Linked DNA regions of Homo sapiens: regions 1, 3, 4, 5, 6 and 7 are each linked to region 2. The links are contacts of gene promoters, found by promoter capture Hi-C in blood cells and fetal thymus (Javierre and others, 2016). All regions are on one chromosome and are shown on one strand. The core of a region is centred on a gene start or on the middle of the fragment in contact, and the rest is flanking DNA. Distances in the headings are between cores, read along the strand shown.

Evidence for each region. Contacts are between HindIII fragments. The CHiCAGO score rates a contact against its expected background, and 5 or more counts as called.
Region 1: a fragment that was not itself captured here is called in contact with the fragment with the promoter of TACSTD2 in region 2 in 9 of 17 cell types (total B cells, M0 macrophages, monocytes and 6 more); the score reaches 8.6 in total B cells.
Region 3: a contact is called between a fragment that was not itself captured here and the fragment with the promoter of TACSTD2 in region 2, in 8 of 17 cell types (total B cells, neutrophils, naive CD8 T cells and 5 more). The highest score is 9.5, in total B cells.
Region 4: a fragment that was not itself captured here is called in contact with the fragment with the promoter of TACSTD2 in region 2 in 1 of 17 cell types (monocytes); the score reaches 5.4 in monocytes.
Region 5: a contact is called between a fragment that was not itself captured here and the fragment with the promoter of TACSTD2 in region 2, in 12 of 17 cell types (total B cells, monocytes, naive B cells and 9 more). The highest score is 9.7, in total B cells.
Region 6: a contact is called between a fragment that was not itself captured here and the fragment with the promoter of TACSTD2 in region 2, in 6 of 17 cell types (total B cells, monocytes, fetal thymus and 3 more). The highest score is 9.6, in total B cells.
Region 7: a fragment that was not itself captured here is called in contact with the fragment with the promoter of TACSTD2 in region 2 in 2 of 17 cell types (neutrophils and total CD4 T cells); the score reaches 8.0 in neutrophils.

Annotation. Positions count from the first base shown.
Region 1 is chr1:59,762,825-59,766,420 of GRCh38, forward strand. No RefSeq gene overlaps it. Among named protein-coding and RNA genes, the nearest start is that of MIR4711, 31 kb to the left of the region's middle. The HindIII fragment of the contact is 2,468 bases long and covers 940-3,407 here.
Region 2 is chr1:58,575,272-58,578,766 of GRCh38, forward strand. It overlaps TACSTD2 (tumor associated calcium signal transducer 2), which reads right to left and starts at 1,981. Exons shown (of 1, transcript NM_002353.3): 1 at 162-1,981. The coding sequence starts at 1,885. The coding sequence ends at 914. RefSeq lists enhancers at 749-1,444, 1,445-2,139. The HindIII fragment of the contact is 7,313 bases long and covers 1-3,495 here.
Region 3 is chr1:59,712,242-59,715,698 of GRCh38, forward strand. The region is part of intron 14 of FGGY (FGGY carbohydrate kinase domain containing); the gene reads left to right. Among named protein-coding and RNA genes, the nearest start is that of MIR4711, 19 kb to the right of the region's middle. The HindIII fragment of the contact is 1,512 bases long and covers 1,225-2,736 here.
Region 4 is chr1:59,785,721-59,789,458 of GRCh38, forward strand. LOC105378758 (a long non-coding RNA gene) reads right to left here. Exons shown (of 5, transcript XR_947426.3): 4 at 3,357-3,462. LOC101926944 (a long non-coding RNA gene) reads left to right here. Exons shown (of 3, transcript NR_110627.1): 3 at 2,899-3,112. Among named protein-coding and RNA genes, the nearest start is that of HOOK1, 27 kb to the right of the region's middle. The HindIII fragment of the contact is 2,058 bases long and covers 801-2,858 here.
Region 5 is chr1:59,746,851-59,750,373 of GRCh38, forward strand. The region is part of intron 14 of FGGY (FGGY carbohydrate kinase domain containing); the gene reads left to right. Among named protein-coding and RNA genes, the nearest start is that of MIR4711, 15 kb to the left of the region's middle. The HindIII fragment of the contact is 3,013 bases long and covers 352-3,364 here.
Region 6 is chr1:59,728,954-59,732,624 of GRCh38, forward strand. The region is part of intron 14 of FGGY (FGGY carbohydrate kinase domain containing); the gene reads left to right. Among named protein-coding and RNA genes, the nearest start is that of MIR4711, 2.5 kb to the right of the region's middle. RefSeq lists an enhancer at 1,964-2,258. The HindIII fragment of the contact is 971 bases long and covers 1,479-2,449 here.
Region 7 is chr1:59,692,954-59,696,650 of GRCh38, forward strand. The region is part of intron 14 of FGGY (FGGY carbohydrate kinase domain containing); the gene reads left to right. Among named protein-coding and RNA genes, the nearest start is that of MIR4711, 38 kb to the right of the region's middle. The HindIII fragment of the contact is 5,575 bases long and covers 1-3,697 here.

The sequences.
Region 1 (3,596 bases), core at 924-3,423, 1.2 Mb after region 2:
TCTCACATGAGACTAGACCTTGGGGGCTATTCAATCCAGGGAAGGCCTGTACTTTTTTTTTTTTTTTTTTGAGACGGAGTCTCGCTCTATCGCCCAGGCTGGAGTTCAGTGGAGCGATCTCGGCTCACTGCAAACCCCGCCTCCCAGGTTCACACCATTCTCCTGCCTCAGCCTCCTGAGTAGCTGGGACTACAGGCGCCCGCCACCGCGCCTGGCTAATTTTTTGTATTTTTAGTAGAGACAGGGTTTCACCATGTTAGCCAGGATGGTCTCGATCTCCTGACCTCGTGATCTTTCCGCCTCGGCCTCCCAAAGTGCTGAGATTACAGGCATGAGCCACTGCGCCCGGCCAGGCCTGTACTTTTTAATCAATTAAATGTCAGCTATTAAATGAAAAACTTACATTACTTTAGGTAGGACATCTAATGCATAGTCGATGTCTTTTATGGCATTTTCCCCTCCTGTGCAGGATCTAGTCTAGGGTCAGATACCACATTTATTTGCAGAATTGTAATTTCACAATCATCATATTAAAGACAGGTATAGGCAGGAATCATCGATGGATCCAGGAGGGAATTTTGAAGAATAACAGGATATATGCATAATCTTAAAATATCTCTTCAGAATTTGCTTATTAGTTACAAGAGGAAAAAGAACGTTAAGTATACAGGGAAGAAATAGGACAACATCTTGATTAGGTGATCCAAATCAACTTCAGATGGGCAAATGGACATTGTGTGCCTCCAGATATGAGAAAAGAAAGAGCATTTTAATGCAGAGCCTGAATCTAATCAGAAGGAAACATCAGACAAACGCAACATGGGAAGCATTTTATTTTTTAATGGACTATATTTTTCAAAAATATCTATGTCATACTGACAAAGAAAGGCTGTGGGAAGTTTCCAGATTAAAGGAAACTGAAGAAACCTGATGGCTAAAAGCTTTTGATGTAGACAAGCACTGGGAAAACTAGCTGTTTTAGTTGATACCACAGCAGACACACAAACGCACACAGACATACACATACATATACATACATAAATATGTCAACACCCACACATAATTTCAGACCCAAGAGTAACTGCTAACGTTGATTTGAGAGCTGTCATAGCTCAAATGAGTGTGGGTAGAGGACATGCTAAGACTTCAGCAAAAGACAGCAGGTAGAGAAGAAAAAGCCAATATAATTCAGTAAATAAACATCCTCTGGAGTACTTTGTGCCACATGTTGTGGTAAGCACTGGTCTACAGGAATAAATAAGACATGGCCCCTGCCTTCAGGAACCTCCCTGTTTAATGAGAGACATAGACAAATAGATTGATGACAGTACATTATGAGAAATGCTACAATTACAAAAAAAAAAGTACCTGCTGCATGGAGCCCATCAGTCAGAAAAGGAGGAAGGAGAAGGTGGGATGAAAAACAATATGGTGTAACAGCTATGAGCCCTGGCCTGGGATCCTAGGCCTGGTCTTACCTCTTACTAGATGGGTGACTTGGAGAAAGGTCCTTAATCTTCCTAAGTCTCAGTTTCCTCATTTTGAAATGAATAGGTATTGAATATGAATATGTTTTTTTTGTTGTTGTTGTTGTTGGTTTTTTTGTTTTTGTTTTTGTTTTTGTTTTTTTGAGACGAAGTCTTGCTCTCGCCCAGGTTGGAGTGCAGTGGCTTGATCTCTGCTCACTGCAAGCTCCACCTTCCAGGTTCACGCCATTCTCCTGCCTCAGCCTCCCGAGTAGCTGGGACTACAGGCACCCGCCACCACGCCCAGCTAATTTTTTGTATTTTTAGTAGAGACGGGGGTTTCACCATGTTAGCCAGGATGGTCTCGATCTCCTGACCTCGTGATCCGCCCGCCTCGGCCTCCCAAAGTGCTGGGATTACAGGCGTGAGCCACCGCACCTGGCCTGAATATGTTAATAGTACCTACTTTACAGGATTATAATGAGGACTAAAGGAGATAATGCATATAAAGCACTCGGCTCAATTGCATGGTCCATGCCTGTGTTATTACAGGGCTCTGCTCCTAGAAGATGCTCAAAATAGTAACTGTAGTAAGCATGGAGAAGGGTGAGCACCCCAGTTATGAAGGTCAGCTCTGCAATAGCATTCTACAGTATCCAAAGGATATAGGGACCTTAGGCATAGCCCCGAGTGAAGGTGGGTGTGCGTGTCTGATCTAGCTGGCCTAAAAGCAGAAGGAAGCCCAGTGCATTCATAGATCCTAGCCAGAGGTTGCACTAGGGATAAAGGAGGATTGGGGATCACTACAGAAGAGGAGTCGGGTATTGCAGGATCTAAGCAAGATGTCAGGTCTATGGTCAAACAGGCTTCAGCTGCAAAAGCTGATTATCACTCACTGAGAAACGGGCAGGCCTGGACCTGCTCACACAAAACCCTGGTGAATGCGGTGGTTGTCTGTGGATACAAAAGGCAGACATAAAAGCATGAATAATTACCAACTATCTGCCAAGTCCTTGTTGTATGTCCTCTCCAATCCTCCTACAGCACTGTGAGGTAGGCAGCATTATCTCCACCTTATAGTTGAGAAAGTTGAGTTTCAGAAAAGACATAGTTGAGAAAATTGAGTTTCAGAAAAGATAGACACTTTGCCCAGAGTCACCAGATGGTAGCAGAGATAGGATTCAAATCCAGATCTGCCTGGATGCAAAACTTTAGGTATCACCCCACTGTAACAGCTGGAGAGGAATCCTGCCCACCACCTGCTCTTTAGTTGCAGTGCTCATGTTGTTGATTGCCAAGCTCCGGGTGCTGGCCATTCTTTCAAGCAAACTCGTATCCAAACCAAACCTGACCTGAGTTTTCACTGCTTTATAGAGAAAGGAAAACACACAGAAATTAGGCAAAAACACATGGCAACACTAGGACACCTTTGGCATCTCAACAGTGAGGAGCAGCTTGATAGAAAGGAGAAGGGCTGAAAGACCTTGGGCAACATAGCTAACCTGTCTAAGCCTCAGTCTTTCCCTCTGTGGTGGGATCATTCTGCTACCTACCTCCTAGGGTTGGTGGTAAGGATTCAGTGAAAGAACTGTGGATAAAGCCCTTAGCACAATGCCTTTCAGACAATAGGCACTCTACAAATATTGTTTCTCCATGGTTCTCTCTGCCTCCTAGCTAGGAGGTTAATCCCTAAGAAAATCATTCTGGTTCCTACTATAAAGCCACCGTGTTAGGAAAAAATATAAATGTCTATATATAATTCTATTAGAAACCACGTGTGGCTCAGTAATAAAAATTTTAATCACTCCAATACACACCTCCTTGCACTGAGAAAGGTGGTTTTATTTAATACATGCATGTAAAGTATATTTAGCTTTGATGAATAAGAATTGCAGTGTGGCCAGAGTGGTTTGTGAGATTTTTGTTTTGTTGCCTACTGAAAGCTTTTCTTTCAAGTTAAAGCCAGACTTGCTTAGCAAATCATTTTGCCAAGGAACGCATTACAGGTTTTAAATTTTGACCAAAAATACTTCCCATATGCGAAGAACATAAATGTGGCTTTCAAAAGAGCCAAAGAGAACAAAAGCTGGGGGAGGTGAGGAAGAAAAGACAAGAATGACAGAATGGAGT
Region 2 (3,495 bases), core at 731-3,230:
ATATCTTAGGACACACCAGAGTAGCAACATGAAACACCCACTTCTGGGGGAAAAAAAAGTGTTATAATTTGAAATAAAAAAAAAATACAAGTCTTGGGAAATTAGAGACCAATGTGATAGAAATCTGGAGGGACTTTTCACAAATGCCGACTTCTGGTTTGTGCCTTTCCCATATTTTATTAAATTCGTGTTTTATTTTAAAAAATTACAGCAACATTATCAAAGACAACATATGTACAAACATTTTACAAAAAAGAACATTACCAATATCAGTGGCAGTAAGGGCAAGCTGAAGAATAAATAGACTGAGTTTCCGGGCAATGTCTGTCCTCAAAGACATCCAAACTGCGTTCAGGCAGCTGAAACAGGCTTCTTTCCCAGTGACAAGCATATGTGGTCAGTAATACAAACGATGGTAAATGAGGCTACTACATAGGCCCAGTTAACAAACTCCTCTTCTCCTCGGGTAGGCCATGATACAAGTGGAACTCATCAAATAATTTAAACCCAAGGCGATAACAACGCTATTTCCCATCTAAACTCATTTAAGCCTTCACAATGTCGCAATGGATTCAGTTACTTGCAAACGATCCCGGGTTGTCATACAGATACTTGTTTTTTACACATAACGCTATGCCATCCCTTCCTTCACTGCCCCAGTCAGGTTTCCTGTTGTTGGACCGAAAGGGGATACATTTTAGAAATGCTTCCTTCAAGACAGAAGTGAGAAAGAAAGGAGACCCTGAGGCCAGGATCTATTAAACCTGGTGTGTGCGCAAAAGGGAGGGGGAAGGCAGGAATTTGAAAGGATAAACGTCTCCTTTGCGCCGAGGAATCAGGAAGCGTGACTCACTTGGGTCTGGGACGATACCGAAATCCGGTACCCCACCCCATCCCCTGCCCCGCCGGGTACCTACAAGCTCGGTTCCTTTCTCAACTCCCCCAGTTCCTTGATCTCCACCTTCTTGTACTTCCCCGACTTTCTCCGGTTGGTGATCACCAGGACGGCCATGCCGGCGACGAGGGCCACCACGACCACCACGATGACGGCGATGAGGCCGGCGGTGAGGCGCTTCATGGAGAACTTCGGGGGAATCTCGTCCAGGTAATAGATGAGCGTGCGCTCCACCTGCAGGGGTTCTCCGCGCACGCGCAAGTCCAGGCCGCCGCGGCCCTGGAATAGAGACTCGCCCTTGATGTCCCTCTCGAAGTAGTAGGCGGCATCGCCGATATCCACGTCACCGGCGGCCTTCTGAGACGTGTTCTGCCGCAGCTCGATCTGGATGGTGGGCTGCTCGTAGTGCACGGCCGCCACGAACTTGGGGTGCAGCCGATAGCGCTCGCGGAAGAGCCGCCTCAGCTCGGCGTCCAGGTCTGAGTGGTTGAAGGCGCCGGCGGTGGGGCGGTGGCGCAGGTCAATGAGGATGTGGTGGGTGCGCACCAGCTCATCGCAGCGTAGGCTCAGGTCGCCCTTGTCCGTGCGGCGCACGCCCACCGAGTTCACGCACCAGCACACCGACGTCTGGTTGCACTGGCGCGCCTTGAAGCGGCCCTCGGGGTCGCAGTCGGGGTCGTAGAGGCCATCGTTGTCCACGAGCGCGTGCTCACTCGGCCGCACCAGCGTGCGGGCGTTCTTGGGGGCGCTCATGCGCGCCTTGAGCAGCAGACACTTGGAGGTCAGCGTGGAGCAGTCGACCGCCATGCCCGAGCCCAGCGCGCGGCACTGGCAGCGGCCGCCGGGGCCGTCGGGGCTGCACACGGTCATCTTGTTGGTGGGACACGTGCAGTTGTCCTGCGCGGCCGTGTGGCCGGTCACCGCCGCCAGCACCAGCAGCAGCAGCGGCAGCCGCAGCGGTGGCGGCGCGAGGCCGGGGCCCCGAGCCATGGTGGGGCGGAGGAACGCGGACCGGACGCGGGCGGATGAGGCGCGGGGACTCGTCGGGGCTCGGGCTCCGGCGTCTGGGATGGTCTGCAGGCGTCTGCCGCCCGGCCGCTCCCTCCGGCTCTTATACTCTACCCGACCTGCCCGGCTGGTTCCACCACCGACCGTCCCCACTGGTATTTGGGTGACACATCCCGCCCCCCTCCCCGTCCCACGGAAGGCCAAGCCGGCCCTGCGCCGCCCGCGATAGGATCAGAACAGGGAAGCTGCTCCCGCCTCCTCCGGACCGAAAGCCGGGAAGGGGAGAACCGATACTCACCTGTAGGCTTCTGGGGACCCGCCCTCGGCGCGGCCTCCTGCTACAGACCTGGCGCGTCTGGGCCGCTCTCCCGGCAGAAAGTCTAAAGAGTTTCATTGCAAAGTGTGGCTCGCGACTGTCGCGCTCTCCTCTATACGCGACTCCCTTTTCGTTCTTTCCCAGCCCCAGCCCTCCCTTAATTTCTCTCACTCCCTCTCTTCTTTGTCCAGTTCTCACAGTAGCACACGTTTATATAGTTTACAGTTCACAAACATTATCTCATCCTAACACCAGTCCTGACAGGTAGGGACTATCAGACCCGTTTTATAGGTGGTACTGATGAGGCTTAAAGACCTGAAGTCACACTGCTATCAACTTCCTCATATTTCTGAGAGGGGTCTTTGGCACCCTGCCTAGGAGTGATGAGACCTTAAATAAAGTGTTTGTGGACACGAAGTGACACAGAATCTGAAGGGAAGTTAGGGAAGCAGTTCTGTTACTCACCATATCAAGGGTAAAACACAGGTATCCTGGTGTCCAGAGGGTTAAAAGTTCTGTTAAACACTAATTTTCTGTACCTCACACAAGCGCACACACACAGGCACACACGCACATAATATTTATTTGTGCACTGGCTATAAAGAGACAAACAGGAACAAATTCTTAAAGAGCCAGCAAGACTGTAAAGAGTTTTTTGTACAATTTGATTCTAACACAGCAAATCGTTGCTTTTCTTTTCCTGTATCCCACGTAAGTAGCTGAACCATGTAAATAATGAAAGAATGGAGCCTGTGAGAAATTGCTTGTCTGCCACTGTGTGGCTAGTTTCATGGCATACAGGGGTTGCAATCTCTTTTTGAGTCATTGAGAAAGTCTAGAGTTTCAAAGCTGTGGTAAAATTAACAATAATTAGCAAGCTATAATTATTCCCAGGTCCTCCATCAAAGCACATTTTATATGTTCAGCATTTAATGTGCACCACCAGTCGTGCAAGGGTGTTGTTTAGCAGATGAAAGCCAGCTGGGCCTCTGTCCCATTAATTTTCACGCAATTCCTGAGGCAGGAAGATTGAAATATATTCTGCCTTGACAGACAGAGGAAGCAGAGACATGTGAGGGACAATTTCTTTTTTCTTTTTTTTTTTTGAGACGGAGTTTTGCCCTTGTTGCCCAGGCTGGAGTGCAATGGCGTGATCTCGGCTCACCACAACCTCCGCCGCCCAGGTTCAAGCAAGTCTCCCGCGTCAGCCTCCCGAGTAGCTGGGATTACAGGCATGAGCCATCAAGCCTGGCTAATTTTTTTTTGTATTTTTAGT
Region 3 (3,457 bases), core at 731-3,230, 1.1 Mb after region 2:
GCAAGATGTAGGTTCCCATCATCTTGGGCAGCTCTGCCCCTGTGGTTTTGCACGGTACGACCTCTCTCCCAGCTGCCCTCACAAGCTGGCATTGAGTGTTTGCAGCTTTTCCAGGCGTGCAGTGCAAGCCATCAGTGGATCTACCATTCTGGAATCTGGAGGTCGGTGGCCCTCTTCTCTCAGCTCCACTAGGCGGTACCCCAGTAGAGACTCTGTGTTAAGGCTCTGACACCACATTTCCCTTTGCACTGCCCTAGCAGAGGTTCTCCAAGAGGACCTCACCCCTATAGCAAACTTCTGCCTGGGCATCCAGGTTTTTCCATACATCTTCTGAAATCTAGGCAGAGGTTCCCAAACCTCAATTCTTGACTTCTGTGCACTGGCAGGTTCAGCACTACATGGAAGCTGCCAAGGCTTGAGGCTTGCACCCTCTGAAGCCACAGGCCAAGCTATAGGGACGCAGGGCACCAAGTCCTAGGCTGCACACATCATGGGGATCCTGGGCCCGGCCCACAACATCACTTTTTCCTCTTAGGCCTCCAGGCTTGTGATGGGAGGGGCTGCCATGAAGACCTGTGACATGCCCTAGAGACATTTTCCTCATTGTCTTGGGGATTAATATTTGGCTCCTCGTTACTTATGCAAATTTCTGCAGCCGGCTTGAATTTCTCCTCAGAAAATGGGATTTTCTTTTCTATTGCATTGTCAGGCTGCAAATTTTGCAAACTTTCATGCTCTGTTTTCCTTTTGAAACTGAATGCCTTTAGTAGCACCCAAGTCGCCTCTTGAATGCTTTGCTGCTTAGGAATTTCTTATGCCAGATACCCTAAATCATCTCTCTCAAGTTCAAGGTTTTACAAATCTCTAGGGCAGGGGCAAAATGCCACCATTCTCTTTGCTAAAACATAACAAGAGTCACCTTTGCTCCCATTCCCACAAGTTCTTCATCTCCGTCTGATACCACCTCAGCCTAGACTTTATTGTTCATATCACTATCAGCATTTTTGTCAAAGCCATTCAACAAGTCTCTAGGAAGTTCGAAACTTTCCCACATCTTCCTGTCTTCTTCTGAGTCTTCCAAACCGTTCTACCCTCTGCCTGTTACCCAGTTCCAAAGCCGCTTCCACATTTTTGGGTATCTTTTCAGCAACACCCCACTCTACTGGCACCAATTTAATGGGTGACACACTCGTGCAGCTGGTCCCCACTGCAGGTCCTTCACAAAGCTTCACTAGTCCATGAGAAATGAAACAATAAGGACAGGGTATTGAGATTTTAACAAAATTAAATGTAGACTATTTAAATGATTCTCCTTTATTCTGATATCATGATAACCACTTTTTTGGTATTAAAATCTCCTTTTGGTTATGAAATAATGGTGAGAGTAAATATGGAGCAGTTGCTTTGTTTAAAGTCCTTATATAATCAAATAAAAAGCTGACAATTATGTTGTAGATCTCCAAAAAGTTTGAATATTTTATTGGTCCAAAGTTTGAGAACTCCTACTCTAAGACTTTCAAGAAGATGGCCCTTCCCACATGTGGGGCTGGAACCTCTTCCCCTTTCACTATCATCAGAAAGGCTTCCGCCCTGGATACAATTAGTATTTGTTGCATACTTCAGTATTTTCTAGGTATATCTTTGCTTTTTGGAAGTCTAAAACATCTGGTAGAATCTTTCAGAAGAAGCAACACAGAATAGAGGCATTAAAATCAAAATTTGAAGTCTGAAACTTCTGTTTCTTACCATCATTAAGAGAGAAGTGCCCAATGACAATCATTTCTCCAAACCATCAGCAGCTCCTTGGAAATGAAGTGGAAGGGTGATAATATATCCAGGACAGACCTAGCTAATGTCTTAATCTTGGCATAATTATTAATAATAACATTCCCTTTCCTTCCAAAAAGTGTCTAGGACTCAAAGGTGAGTTCATTGGGATAATAAACTATGGCCACCTTAAATGAAGGCCCCTTCAGCTCTCCTGAGCTAGAAAGTCCCAAAGAGCCTGCTCTTTCCCTGGGCAGGAAGCCATGGTGACCAGTGGAAGGATTATGTCTGTCTTACCAGAGGCCTGGGTTGGGTGCCAGCATGAAGCCTGTAGGATCTACTTAGATCTGGGACTTCAAAGACCTAGTGGTGGGTGAATCTTTGTGGCTTCCATCATTGCTTTGTCTCTGGGAGCATCAAGTTGAAGGCCAAGCTAGTTTCTTTCCTTTGATGAGGGAAAATATGTCAACACAATGGTCCACTGAACTCTGGGAATAGACAGACATGTGGTGTCTTTGGGGGATTATAGCCTAAATGGTTTTACTCTGGCACATGTGGAATTAAATATAAAACAAACAGCTGATTGCTGTTAAATTCACATGCATAAAAACAACCATTACTATGTCTTCTCAGCTACAGTACCAGAGAGTCCCCCTAGAATCAAGCAGTTATTAGATGGGACTTTGGAGTGAGTGTAGAAAAGAAAAGGAGGAGGAGAAGGAAGAAAATGAGGAAAAGAGGAAGAGGAGAGAGAAATAACAAGTCAAATAGGTGGAGAGTTTTGAAAGTTACAAAGTCTGTGCCATTTAGCATGAGTTATTTTTCCTTTTTATTCCTTGTATTTGACATATGAAAAGAAATCTTTGCTGATACTGGCTTCAGATTCTCAGGTTTAAGTATGCTATCCTTGACCCAGGAAAGAGTTACATGCATCATACTTCCGAGGCCTTCAAAGAACAACTTGGAGCAAGCTTGAGAGTTTGCAGGGCATTTTGGTGACATTTCTGGATGCCCTTTGTTTCCCCCTTTCAAGAAAAGCCCTTTCTTTCGTTGCCTTCTCACATAACAGCTTGGGATTCTTGTCCCTCCCAGAAATGCATTTGAACTTGCTGGGTTTGTTAAGAGTCAGGGCATGAAGCATTTTTCCATGGTAGAAAAGTTCTGGCATTCCAAAGCAGAACTAATGTGGGATTTGGGAAGCTTGCCCTATTTGTGCACTTAATTAGAGCTCACCAAAAGCAGCTGATCCATTGGTACCATAAAAAACCAATGCTGAGACCAAGGAAGGCTAAGACTGTGAGTACCCTTAGAGGGTGGTGAACATGAATTCCACACCTGTTCCCTACTGACTGGAATCAGGATTCAAAGGCAAAAAGTTGTGTGCTTTCCAGCAACATTCATTGGGATCCGCAGCCCAATTTAATCAATTGATAGGTTGCCAGTGTCTAAGTCAAGTCCCGAAACACTTGGTTCCCCTTGGGTCAATGAAATTTGGTCTTGGTTCTAATACAAACTTTAAGTTGGCTAAAAATGGCTGAGAAAACTACTGGTTTTAGAGTCAGTCAAGCCTGTGCTCTAAGTCTGACTCTGCCACTATGAGATGTCAGATCTTGGAGAAACTGTTCAGTTACTTCTGAGCTTTAGTTTGCTTCCCGGTAAAGGGACATACTAACACCTATTCCATGGGTCC
Region 4 (3,738 bases), core at 580-3,079, 1.2 Mb after region 2:
CCCAACACGTGGGAATTATGGGAATACAATTCAAGATGAGATTTGGGTGGGGACACAGAGCCAAACCATATCATTCCACACCTGGCTGCTGCCAAATCTCATGTCCTCACATTTCAAAACCAATCACACCTTCCCAATAGTCCCCCAAAGTCTTAACTAATTTCAGCATCAACTCATAAGTCCATGGTCCAAAGTCTCATCTGGGACAAGGCAAGTCCTTTCCACCTATGAGCCTGTAAAATCAAAAGCAAGCTAGTTATTTCCTAGATACAGTGGGGGTACAGACATTGGGTAAATACAACCATTCCAAATGGGAGAAATTGATCAAAACAAAGGGGCTACAGGCCCCATGCAAGTCTGCAATCCAGCAGGGCAGTCAAATCTTAAAGCTCCAAAATGATCTCCTTTGACTCCATGTCTCACATCCAGGTCATGCTGATGCAAGAGGTGGGTTCCCATGGCCTTGGGCAGCTCCACCCCTGTGGCCTTACAGGGTGTAGCCCTGCTCCTGGCTGCTTTCATGGGTTGGCATTGAGTGTCTGTGGCTTTTCAGGTGCATGGTGCAAGCTGTTGGTGGATCTACCATTCTGGGGTCTGAAGGTCGGTGGCCCTCTTCTCACAGCTCTACTAGGTGGTGCCCCAGAAGGGACTCTAGTCCCATTTCCCTTCCACACTGCTCTAGCAGAGGTCCCTTCCACACTGCCCTAGTATACATCTTCTGACATCTAGGCAGAGGTTCCCAAACCTCAATTCTTGACTTCTATGCACCCACAGGCATAACACCATGTGGAAGCTGCCAAAGCTTGGGCTTGCACCATCTGAAGCCATGGCCCAAGCTCTACAATGGCCCCTTTCAGCCATGGCTGGAGTGGCTGGAACTTAGGGCACCAAGTCCCTAGGTAATGTACATAGTTCAGGGACACTGGGCCCAGCCCACAACACCACTTTTTCCTCCTAGGCCTCTGGGCCTGTGATGGGAGGAGATGCCATAAGGACCTCTGACATGCCCTAGAGACATTTTCCCCATTGTCTTGGGGATTAACATTTGTATCCTCATTACTTATGCAAATTTCTGCAGCCATCTTGAATTTCTCCTCAGAAAATGGGATTTTCTTTTCTATCACATTGTCAGGCTGCAAATTTTTCAAACTTTTACGCTGTTTCCCTTTTAAAACTGAATGCCTTAAACAGCACACAAATCACTTCTTGAATGCTTTGCTACTTAGAAATTTCTTCCACCAAACACCATAAGTCATCTCTCTCAAGTTCAAAGTTCCATAGATCTCTGGAGGAGGGGCATAATGCTGCCAGTCTCTTTGCTGAAACAAAACGAGTCACTGTTGCTCCAGTTCCCAACAAGTTCCTCATTTTCATCTGAGACCACCTCAGCCTGGACCTTATTGTTCATATCACTATCAGCATTTTTGTCAAAGCCATTCAACAAGTCTCTAGGAAGTTCCAAATTTTCCCACATCTTCCTCTCTTTTTCTGAGTCTTCCAAACTGTTCCAACCTCTGCTTGTTACCCAGTTTCAAAGTTGCTTCCACATTTTTGGGTATCTTTTCAGCAATGCCCCACTCTACTGGTACCAATTTACTGTATTAATCTGTTTCCATGTTGCTGATAAAGATATATCTGAGACTGGACAATATACAAAAGAAAGAGGTTTAATTGGATTTACAGTTCCACGTGTGTGGGGAAGCCTCACAATGATGGTAAAAGGCAAGGAGGAGCAATTCTCATCTTACATGGATGGCAGCAGGCTAAGAGAGAATGAGGAAGACACAAAAGTGGAAAACCCTGATAAAACCATCAGATCTCATGAGACTTATTCACTCCCATGAGAACAGTATGGGGAAAATGCCCACCGGTTCCCTCCCACAACATGTGAGAATTATGGGAGTATAATTCAAGATGAGACTTAGGTGGGGACACAGAGCCATACCATATCACCTTCCATGCTGTCAGCTATGGGTGTGCACTCTCTTTCTGACTAGAGCCCTGATTGATAAAATGAATATTTATAAAATGGAAGAAGTTGGAGAAAATAGAGTCTCATTATTAAACCCCTACTACAGGCCCTGCACAGAGGCAGGCATCTTTATAGTGGATATTCAATAAATGCTGATAAATTTGAAGAAAAGGGAATAAGACAAGGTAAAGCAGATTTCACAAAAATCTGAGACACAAGATTCAGATCCTTTGTGTCAGATGATCCCATTTCCCAAATTTGGAATGTGAACAGAAGAAAGAGAGACAATGAGGATTGTCTGTTCAACTCAGCAAGCCTGGAAAACAACAATGCTAGTATGTATGGAAGACATAAAATACTATTCTAGGTTTAAGTAAGATTTAAAGGAAAATAGTACAGTAAAAGGCAAGTACATGATTTTTCACTTGTCATTTTGTGAACTTGGGTATAGAGTGGAAGTGAGCAGACATGAACATAATTAATGGAATGGCCATTTTTCTTACATGCCTAACCATTTTTTTGCATGATTTACAATTTTCAAATGCTATTCCCTCAGAAAAGAAATTTTACCTTGTTTTCACAAGAAAAGATCAAGTTGAAGAATGACTTTAACAATAAAGTAACCAGTGCCCCCAAAGTATATTATTCACAGTGTCTAGCATAGGCACAGTGAAAGGTTCATGGGTATCCAGCAAATTCTGTTGTTGGTCCTGGAAACCAACAAAGTCAGATATTCAAAATGCCTTTCTTGTTTACAAAAAGTATTCTACTTGTTATCGTTGTCAGGAGAGACCCTTTCACTCAGATCCTCTTTATCGAGAAAACAGAAAACCCTCATAAAAGCATCAGATATTTAAAAAATTTTTAAATTTCTCTTTTGAGCACAAGCTTTTTGTTTGTTTGTTTATTTGTTTTGTTTTTTACAGGAGAATGGAGATGTCTCGGATTTTTTGTGCACAAATTGTCCTCAGAACCAAACAAAATAACCAGCATAGGAGAGAATTCACAAAGTAAGAGACTCATAAAGTAAAATGTTTTGCTTTACTTTTTGCCTTTTTCATCCTGCTTTGTTTTTCAACATGTGTAAATCATTCTGTTACTATAAACTTAATAAAGAAGTAAAAGAGCAAAGACCAAAAATGTAATAATGAAATAAAGTTTTTATCAGTTATAATTTTTTGGCATGATCAGGTTATCTTTGGTGTACACTTCAGGGTTTTGTATTTCAAACACAACTCTTCTTAAAACTTTTCATGTGTCCCAGATGTGACCTAGTTTCCTTCTGGGAAATGAATGCTGAGTGTTGTACAGACAAGTCAAACAGACATAGCTATTTTAGGAGTCATTAATGTAGTGCTTATAGAAACCAAATATGTAAACCCACCTGGCCAGGAAAACCTTTATTGAGTATATACTTTGTGCTGAGTGATATTCCAGGCTCCAGAAATGAAAATACAAAGGGCAAGGCCCAATCTTGAAGAGCTCATGAACTAGTAAAAGAGAACAACAAACATGTTACAAGGCAAAAACAAATTACAAATGTAAATAATAAAGCCAAAGCATAATATGTACAATAATGGAAGCCTGAAAAAGGTAAAGAAGTATTACATAAAATGGAGCCATTTGTTCTGTCTTAGGAGAGCTCAAAAAAGCCTTCACAGAAAAGGTAGAATCCAAGCAAATTCAAAAGTTTAAAGTCCAGTTTGGAAATTTTCTTTCAATTAAGTCATGACGTGTTTATGGACAAATATCCACTTGAATCAATA
Region 5 (3,523 bases), core at 608-3,107, 1.2 Mb after region 2:
GGGTTTGGATTATGATCTAAATATCACTGAAGTCTTTGTTTCACAGCAAATGTTTAAAAGTATAGGTTCCAAAGCCATATGTTTTCTTGTCTTTGAACTGGGAATACAAACTAGGTAACGTATTTAATAATATAGTGCTAGGCCATAGTAAGTACTCAACAAATATCAGTTGCCATTATAATTATTGTTATTGAGTTACTATTATTTAATTACAGCTCACGGCAGTACTATATACCTTCTCAGCCTCACATATCAGCAAGATCATATTTTTTTCCAGTCAACAATAGATTATTAGATGAGTGACAGCTTGCAGTTTTGGAACCTATCATCTGTCTGATGCTTTTAGCAAGAAGCTTCCTATTTTTACTTTGAGAAATCCATAAGAAGTAAGTCAAACTCATGTAGATGGGATGAATACTTGCTCCCTATTCATGTTTGGATCCAACTCTTTTGCAGCCAGGCCATATATTAGGACCCCATCTCAGAGTATCACAACAGAGGTTGATGGCCTTACCTAGTATAAAACCACTCCCCTGTGCCGTATTTGCCCATGACTGAATCGGAATGAAACTTTCCCTTGCTAGGAAAACACTGTGGGTATATTCTCTGTCGGAGTGTGCTGAGCAAAACCCTAATAGAATGTACCGTGAGGAATAAGGAGTAACTTGTCAACTGAGAGTTAATCAGAAAACCACATGTGCACAAAACCAACAGATTGCAGAGCTGGCAAAGACTTCAGAGATAATTTACTCCAACCCCCTCATTCTACTGATAAAGAAAGTGAGTCCCAGGGAGGGGAAGGGTCTTGCTCAGGGTCATACAGCTGGCAGTAATTTTGTTTGTTTCAATAATTAATATGAACAGTCATTCTATACATCAGTGAATCCACCTTCCTGCCTTTGTAAGCACAATATAATGACCATAATTGAATTTGTCTTTGACAGTGAAGAAAGCAGGCTTTTAGGGCTTTACAGGGCCCCAAAGTCATCAGAAGAAAATAAATTGTCATGAACTAAAGCTGGAGATCTGCCTGTTGACTGTGAGCTTCTTAAGGAATGGGCCTGGTCTTATTCATGAGCTAAAGCAAGTTTCAAATCCTGGCTTAGCCCTTTACTAGCTTAAGCAAGTACTTAACCTCTCTGAGCCTTTATTTCCTCATTGTAAATTTAAATAATAAGACCTTCCTCAGAGACTGTTAGTGAGGATCAAGGGAGGCAAGATCTGTATACCAGTACCTTGCGTAAAATAGGCATTCAATAAACTTGCACTTTCACCTTACATTTAACAAATGTCCTGCTAAAAGCTAGGGATACTTCAAAGAAAGGAAAGCCAACGACTCCACTTTCATGGAGCTTAGATTCAGGAGGGAGGAGAGCAGAGGTGAGGACCACAGAGAAGCAGGCAGACAATAAACAATTAAAAATATAATTTCAGATGATGATGTGCTATCAAGGGTTATGAGGAAAAGAAAATGAGATGATGTCATAGATGTTTAGGAGAGTGCACTGCTTCTGCTAAGAGTGGCCAAGGGCAGTCTTTTCAATATTATGTTTGAAGAGAACCTAAATCATATGGAAAAAGCCAGACAGTCAAAGATCCTGGAGAAGACCATTCCTGAGAGATTCAGAAAGGCCTTAGGCAGGAGGAAGGTTGGCATGTTCAGCCAGCAGCAAGATGGCCAGTGTGTTCCCAGCATGGCCAGCCCAGTAAGCAGGGCATGAGATGAGACTGGAGACATCTGCATAAACTCCATCCTGAAGTTCTAGTCCACCCTATGACATTTGAGTTTTATTCAAAAAGCGATGGAACACTGTTGCAAGGACGTGTTAAAAAATAAATATTGGTCTTTGTCCCTAGTTCCTGGCACACAGCTTCTAAAATTCTTGGAATCCCTGCTAAAAGCTAGGGATACTTCAAAGAAAGGAAAGCCAAGGACTTCACTTTTATGGAGCTTAGATTAAGCTCCATGTGTATGGTAATGAGATGACTGATGGCTGAGAACCCCTCCGTAGCATCAGGATGGGGGCTGGTCACCAGAAAGACCAAGGCATGATTAGAGGGTTGAACTTTCAGCCCCTCCCCTGACCTTCCAGAATGAGAAAGGGGCTAGAGATTGAGTCAATCACCGATGGCCAATGATTTACTCAATTATACCTAAGTAATGAAACCTTCATAAAAACCCCTAAATGATGGGGTTTAGACAGCTTCTGGATTGGTGAACACAGGGAGGTATTGAGAGGATGGCATGCCTGGAGGAGGCATGGAAGCTCACTGCACCACTGCACCTCCCTCCCCTCATACCTTGCTCTATGTATCTCTTCCATTTGGCTGTTCCTGAATTTTATCCTTTATAATAAACTGGTAATAGTAAGTCAACCGTTGTCTTGAACTCCATAAGCCGATTCTAGCAAATTATCAAGCCTTGGGGGGTGGAGTTTGTGGAAACCTCCAATTTGCGGTCAGTTGGTCAGAAATACAGGAGACCCAGGACTTGTGATTGGCATCTGAAGTGTGGGCAGTCTTGCTGGACTGAGCCCTGAAGCTGTGGGGTCTGACACTAACTAACTGGGGTCAGTGTCAGAATTGAATCAAATTTAATTATAAGTCATGCAATTGGTGGCAGGAGAGTTGGAGAATTGGTGAGTGTGAGGAAAAAACCCATACATTTGGTGTCAGGAGTGTTGTAGGTAAAAACAGCCCAGAGAGGTAAAATCATTCATTGATTCATTTAACAAATCCTTATAGATTAACTATTCTGGCCAGGCACAGTTCTTGGTGTGGTGCATGAATCCAATACACACCCCTGGCCACATGGAGCTTGCATGCTAAAGGGATAATAAATATCTAAAGTTTATGTAGCATTTACTATATGCTGGCATTGTTGTGTTTTACCTCAAATAACTCACGTGCTTCTCATAGCAGTCCTATGAAAGGCATATTTTTATCCCCATTTTCTGATGAGGCAACAGGCATGAAGAAATTAAGTAATTATTCCGTGATTATACAGCTAGTAAATGTAAAAATCCAGTTTCAAATTCTGGCAGTCTGTTATAGTCAGTCTGTATTTTAATCACTGCCCTTTATTTTCTCTGCTTCTGAAAAATCACCTAGACTGGTCCTGACTGCTATAAGGGGAACCAAAGTGGAAGTCAAGAGACCAGTTAGGCAGTAGTGGTCAGAGAATGGGATACTGGAATTTTCAACAACACTGAGTAGATATTATTATTCCCACTTAATAAATGGGAAAACTGAGCTTTGATTCACACATCTGATAAGTAGCAGAGCCTGGATCCAACCCCAAGCCCATTTATCTCTAAAACCCAGTATCTTTCTGCTAATGCCTCCATTTCCTACAGAATTATAAAGCTTCCACTCCTCCCCTCCTTTATGACCAAGAGACCAATTTGAGGTATGTTTTAGAGTCAAAATTAGAGGACTGGGCGTCTAAAAATTTTTTTTTCTCTTGGTAGGCATTTTTATAATTGAAAATAAAATAAAATATAAATATACTGACATGCAGTTC
Region 6 (3,671 bases), core at 714-3,213, 1.2 Mb after region 2:
ATTACTTCAGATATTTCTTCTGCTCCATTCTCACTTTGTTATCTTCATATTCTAACCATGCATATGTTATACGTTTTGAAATTTTTCTTGGGTGTCCTGGGTGTTTCCCTCCATTCTTTTTTCTTTTTGCATATCAGTTTGGGAAGTTTTTAACTGATGTATCTTCAAATTCACTGATTCTTTCCTTGTCCTTGTTAAGGCCATCAAAGGCCTTCTTTGTTTCTGTTGGTCTTTTTATTATTATTATCATTATTATTATTATTAGGATTTCTTTTAGATACTTTTTTAGCATTTTCGTCTCTCGTTACATTGTCCGTTTGTGCATAGTGTTTACTTTTTCTATTAGAACACTTATTAATCATAGTTGCATTAAATTATCTGATAATTCTAACATTTGTGTTATATCTGAGTTGGGTTCTGATTCTTGCTTTCTCTCTTTGGACTGTGTTTTTCTTGCCTTTTAGCATGCCTTTTAATATTTTGTTGAAACATGGATATGATGTATCTGGTAATAGGAACTGAGACAAATAGGTCTATATGTGACATTTTGTGTTAGAAATTGAACTGTGTTTAATGTTTGTTATAGTTGTACATGCCAGAGGCCTCACATTCTTCTATTGTCCTTATTTTTTCATCCCCACTATTGTCTTTGGCGTCCCTAAGATCTCCTCCTTAGATAGAGTCTATGTCTTGCTGCTCTTTGAGCTGTAATTCACTAATATTATACTGGGGTCATGTCGATGTGGTTTTAAGGTATGGGGAAGGAAAAGCATTCTATAATCTTTTGATTATATCTGTCTTTTAGTGGGACTATGTCCCTGAGCTATGACCTTCATAGATGTTCTTAGGCCCCTACTCCTTTAGGTGAGACAGAAGGCTTGCAGGCACTAGAGTTGAAGAGATGTCCTTCCCCTGTGTGCAATAGGCTTTTGTAAAGTCTCTTCCTCTTAAAAGGTCTTTATTATGGAGAACTCTGTGTTATGGAAAAACACTGTAAAAAATATTTTACAGTGTTTACGCTTTCCCTCCCCCTGCCAGAGCCAAGAGGGGATCATTCTTGACTCTTTGGATTCCTGGAGGTAAAACCGATGAAAGTGTGGGCCCCCTTCCACTAAGACTGTTACCCTCAGGAGTTGCTCGCTTTCCTATTAGTCCACACTCAGCCCCCAACACTTCAAATTACCACTGAAGTGTCCCTACCAGTTTATGACTCCAGCAGCTGCTCCTCCAAGTAAGATCTCAGCTGTGACTGTCTGGGTTGTCCTTTCTCTTCAGATTTCAGGGTGATAGTTTGTCCTGTAACCTCAGTTCTCTTATGGATCCAACAAAAATCACTGATTTGCAGTTTCTTAGCTTTTTTTTTTTTTTTTGGAGTAAGGATGGGATAAATGACTTAGACAGTTTTTACATGTTGGAGCTATAACCACAAGTCTCTACATGTCTTTAATGTACTTGCTGACTTTCCCTACTGGAATGTAAGCTTATGAAAGCAGGGGCCATGTCTGTTTTATTCATAGCTACAGCTTCAGTAGCCAGAATAGCACCTGACTCAAAGTAAGCGGGCCAATAAATAGTTGCTAATAGACTAATTAATCTCTTGGCAGTCATTGAGCATATTGTTATACCAGGCACTGTGCTTAGTGTGGAAAGACATCAGGTGCCTACATTATTACAGTGGTGTGGGGGCAGGGCATGGTGGACATACAACTAAAATAACAATAAACCACAGATCAGAGAATAGGGAAGTTTTAAAGCACTGAGGACACATACCTCATCTAGCCCAAGCAAGAGGGAGGTAGAGGTAAAGCATTGCCAGAGAAGAAAACCATCACCTGAGTTGAGTTGTAAACAATGAGTAGCTGTTAGCCTGTATAGTGGAGAGGGACCCAGCCAAGGAGACAGCACAGACCTGTCAAAGTCCATGTCGGACAACATGCAAAGTGATTTACTTAACCCACCTCATGAACGTTTAGTAGCCCACGCAAGGCAGGCCCCTGTTAACTCACAGGTCAGGAAACTGAGCCTCAGACAGTTTAAGTGACTCGACAAAATGTCACCAATGCTGAGTGATGGAGCAAGTCGGCTTGAGGCCAAGGTCCATTTTCTCCCTGCTACAAAGATGACTAAGCACGACTCAGAGTCTGGTGGAGGAGCAGAACACATAAACAGTCTTTGATGATACCCATGCTCTTTTGAATTTGCTCTATTGTTGTTCATTTTCTTTAAGATTTCAGCCCTAGAAGTAGCAAGCTGAAAATCAGGGCTGCTTTGCAAATGCCCACAAACCACTGAGGGGAGTTTTGTCAAAGAAGGCGGGAAAGAAAAATAAATGTGGGCTTCTGCTCTTTAAACCTCAGCCCAGTGAGGCAGACTTTCCCGGAATACTTCAGGCCTCTTCAAAGGCCTATTGTGGAAAGTGTCCAGATGTGCGTGGAAAACCTCACTGGGAAGCTTCCCGGTGAAGAGGCCTTTTAAGCATGAACCGAGATGAAGGAAGCTGACGCCATGAGTCCTATCAGGTGGCCTTTTTTCTGAAGGAGCCCAGATTTTCCCCTAACCTTAAGAAGGTTGTAGGGGGTTGGGTGATTAGCCAGTTCGTATTCCTTTGATTACAGGAAGCAGTGGGGTTAGTTGTTTTTTGTTGTTGTCTTTCCTTTTTTTGCTGAAGTGAGAAGAGGAGATGGGGGTGGGGGGCATTCTCCATATGATTTATCTACCTGTAAGTTGTTAGTGACAGTCTGGTCATTCCTCCAGCATACCTTGTGAGGGCCAGGAGGGATTTCTGGATTGGATAAAGTTGAGGCACTGAGTAAGTCCTGCTAGTTTCTATGATGATGCCTCTGAGTGTTCTAAGAGTCAGAATCCCCTGGAATCTGGCTCTGATCCCCTGCTCCGAATCCCTGTTTAAGCTCTCTTCCCAATGCCCTGTTTATCCTAGGTTTGAGGCCCCATCTTCCTCTTGCTAGATACAGTTAAGCCAGAGAGACCCAGATTTAAATCCTGCTCTCTCATTAGCTGTGTCATCTTGCACAGAGTAGCATCAGCCTCACCGAGCCTCAGTTTCCTCATCTGTAAAATGGAGGTAATACCAGTCCCGTCATCATCCAGTTGCTGTGAGGATTAAATGAATTGCTGAGTTGCCGCACACAAAGCATCTGGTCCAGTTCCTGGCACAGAGTGAGGGTTCAGTTTATTTTCATTCCTTTTCTCTTTAATCCAGTTGTACAAAGAGGCAGAGCTGTCCCATTTGACCAGAGAATTTTACTTCTGTAGCTCTTTAAATTCTCTCCCCGCCATGTACATATGGGCTTAGCTAAGTATTTTGAGATCACAGTGTATTTAGGGGAAAGTCCTTTTGGCTACAGCTAAAATTAGGCCTCTCTTGTGCTCCTCTGTTTACCACCCCCCTTCCTATTTTAACTAATTAGAGGCATTGACACTAAGAAACACTTAAGAAAAGTTGGAAGAACAGCTGGGAGTTGTTCTAGATACAAGCAGCTGCTCCCTGTCAGCATGCAGGCACAGAAAAGGATGATCCTGAATGGGGAAGTGCAGGGAGGGCACCTCAGAGATGAAGATGAGGAATGGCAAAGTCTGTCTATGTTGTGGCAAACTGAGCAGGGTGGAGTTCTTATCACTCTGTCCTCTACCTTCTGCTGAGAGAAAAGGGG
Region 7 (3,697 bases), core at 896-3,395, 1.1 Mb after region 2:
GCCCGTGCTGAGCTCTGTTGCCTTGAGCAAGTCAGTTCATCAAAAGTAGAAGATAGTTATCATTAATTTTATCATCATTATTACTACCAGTAGTAGGAACTCTCTGAAATTCAATTTCACAATCTAAAAGATAGATAATATTTGTGTAAGCATCGTCAGAAGGTTTAAATGGAATAAAAGATGTGGAAGTGCTTAGTAAACTATAAAGTAATTCACAAATACAAAATATTAACACCAAGAGACAGCTTGACGTGCTAGAAAGAGTTTGCATTGGCATCAGACAGATATGGCTGCTTACAGACTGCTTCATCTGAACGCATCACTTACATGCTCAGCCTCAGTTTTCTATCAGTAAAATTTCTTAGTGTAAATCTGTAAAATGTTCTACCCATGTTACAAACCTGTGGCTTAATTAACCTCTCTACACTTCAGTTACTCCTCTGTAAAATGGAGGTGGCACTGGCACCTCCCTCATAAGGTCGTTGTGATGATTAAGTAAGTTAATACAGGAAGAACATTTAGAACAGTGCCTGGCACAGGCAGCGTGTCATACATATTAATGGTGGTAATGGTAGTGGTGGTGGAGAAGAAGAAGAGGAAGGAGAAGAGGAGGAAGAAAGAGCAATTGAAATCATATACGTGCATAGAACTGTGAAAGCTGGTGGTAATGGTAGTGGTGGTGGAGAAGGAGAAGAGGAAGGAGAAGAAGAGGAAGGAAGAGGAGGAGGAAGAGCAGTTGAAGTCATATACGTGCACAGAACTGGGAAAGCTGGCCAGGCTCGGTGGCTCACACCTGTAATCCCAGCACTTTGAGAGGCTGAGGCCAGTGAATCCCTTGAGCCTAGGAGTTTGAGACCAGCCTGGGCAACATGGTGAAAACCTGTCACTACAAAAAATACAAAAATTAGCTGGATGTGGTGGTGTATGCCTATAGTCTCAGCTACTCGGGAGGCTGAGGTGGGAGGATTGCTTGAACCTGGGAGGCAGAAGTTGCAGTGAGCCAATGTTACGCCACTGCACTCCAGCCTGGGCAACAGAGTGAGACCCTGTCTCAAAAAAAGTAAATGGCCGGGCGCGGTGGCTCACGCCTGTAATCCCAGCACTTTGGGAGGCTGAGGAGGGCGGATTACAAGGTCAGGAGATCGAGACCACGGTGAAATCCCATCTCTACTAAAAATACAAAAAATTAGCTGGGCACAGTGGCGGGCGCCTGTCGTCCCAGCTACTCGGGAGGCTGAGGCAGGAGAATGGCGTGAACCCGGGAGGAGGAGCTTGCAGTGAGTTGAGATCACGCCACTGCACTCCAGCCTGGGCGACAAAGCAAGACTCCGTCTTAAATAAATAAATAAATAAATAAATAAATAAATAAATAAATAAATAAAATACTGAAAGCTCCATGTGATACAAGTGAGGACCTCCATAGTCAATGTCAAAATACTTTTGGTCAGTTCGTGGACTGGTTCACATGTCTTATCAGTTTTCTCAAAGTTTCCATTGTCTACATAGCCTTTTTTGTCATGCCCAGTATGCATGCCTGCTCTGATCCTTGGCTATGAAGTTTTCAATGGGAAAGGGACAACCAGGACAAAGAATTGGTAGAAACCATGAGAAATATTTTCTCAGAGACCAAGGTCTCCACAGGCCAGGATTTCTCAGAGTCTTCTTCGATATATTAAAAAGTATTTCTGGAAAAAATTAGTTTGAAAACTGCTATGATGTTCAAGATAACTAGGTGTCTTTTTTTTTTTTTTTTAAAGAGATGGGGTCTCAATGTGTTGCCCAGGCTGGACTCTAATTCTGTGCCCAAGAAATCCTCCCTCCTCAGTTTTCCAGGTAGCTGGGACTATGGATGTACTTCACAGTACCCAGCTCTAACTAGGCGTCTTCATAGCAAGGCATCTGTTAAGACTTTAAAATGTAAACATGCATTGTGAATCTCCCAGGTTGGATAGGCATAGAGAGTATGGTGTTTCCCAAATTTACTTGATCGAAGAATTAGTTTTTCATGGAGCATCTTACTTTGCTAAAGTTTCAAGTACCAAAATTGGGAAATGTTGATGTAAGCCCATAGCCAAGACAATCAAGCCTTAAGCATAGTACCACAAAACAGGTTTGAAAACTCCTACTAATCCTTCCATCAATTCATGTATCTATTTAACAAATTAAAAGAGTTCTATATGTGGCAGTGACTATGTGCTAGATGGTGGAGAAACAATGACAAGCAAGACTAGTATATTCTCTACCCTCTCAGAGTTCTGGTGGGCCTACTGGGGAGAGGGAAAAGTTGCCCACTAATTTTATTGCAATGACAAGTGAAAAGATGGAGAGGACAGGTGCCATGACACCGGGAGCAGCGGCTTCTTACCTAACCTGGTGGGTCAAGGAGAGTTTCCCAGGGAAAATAACTTCTAAGTGGAGACCCAAAGGAGGAGTTACAGCTGTAGGACACATAGGAGCTTGCAACACACTCGCCCATGCATTCCATGTTGTATCCTCATGACAACCTTTCTTGGTAGATGCAATGAGAGTGGTAAAAGTTACTAAGTGGTCATTACGACCTAATGAGTTCCTACTCAATGAGTCAGGCACTGTGCTAGGCATCTTACAAATTTATTGCATATAATCTTGACGGCAATGAGCAGTATCCTCAGTTTACAAATGAGAAGTTGAGGCTCATGGGAGATAAGTGGTTTCCCAACCCTGTACATGTAGTTAGTACAAAACCAGGACTTTCAGATCTGCCTGATTCCAAAGCCCATTACACTGTGGTCAACCAGTGCTGGGCCTGGACCGTGGCTGGTCCATAACAGGGTTTTTACTAGTCAGAAATACGGAAGAGTAAGCAGAATGTCATGAGTTCTTCCTTAAGCTAATTTTTTTCTTCTTAAATGACATATTATCCTGAGATGTCCCCCTCCCAACCATTTGATGTAGAAAGTCCTGTGGGTTTTTTTTTTATATATTACTTGTCAGAGAAAACTTTGAGCTTCTTCTTAGCAAAATAAAAACTTTCTAACCATATGTCAGTCTCCCAAGTCATTTTGGAAGTGTTGCCATCTATGAAATCTAAAAATCATGGAAGTTCTGTGTATGCAACTTTCTAGAACATATTCCTTCTAAAAGTGAGAGAAATATGAACCAGCACATTGCTGTGAGTTCTGCTGGTTCAAAATTGGATGAGTTGCTGAATTCCATGGGCACCAGCAGCCAAAAATGGAGATAAAATAAGATCAAGTGTCATCTTCCAAAATGTACAGACATACCACCAGTGACATTCAGGCATTCTACGTCCTGGTTTATAGACACCCTTTTTCTAAGTTTTAATAGATACTAGAAAAGTACCTAGCATTAAACCTGGGTTTTCATGAACATTTTTCCCTAGAAAATTTTAAAAAGAAAGAAAAGTTTTTTTCCCAGGACTTAAAGAAATATTTTATGACTAATCAATACTATAGGTAGTACTTGAGAAAAGAAAATAATTGTGAAGATAGGACCTGAATTACTAAAATGTGTGAAATAGTACGATAATATGTATAAAAGTGCCTCATGCATAAAAGGCCCCAGTAAATGCTTTCTTCCTCCCTGATTCACATGGTGAGCAAGTGGCGGGGGCCCAGGACTAAACCTCATAGCATCAGACTCCCAGTCCAGTGCTCCTTCCAAGAGGCCTTTCAATTGTTTTCTTTCTGTCTACCTA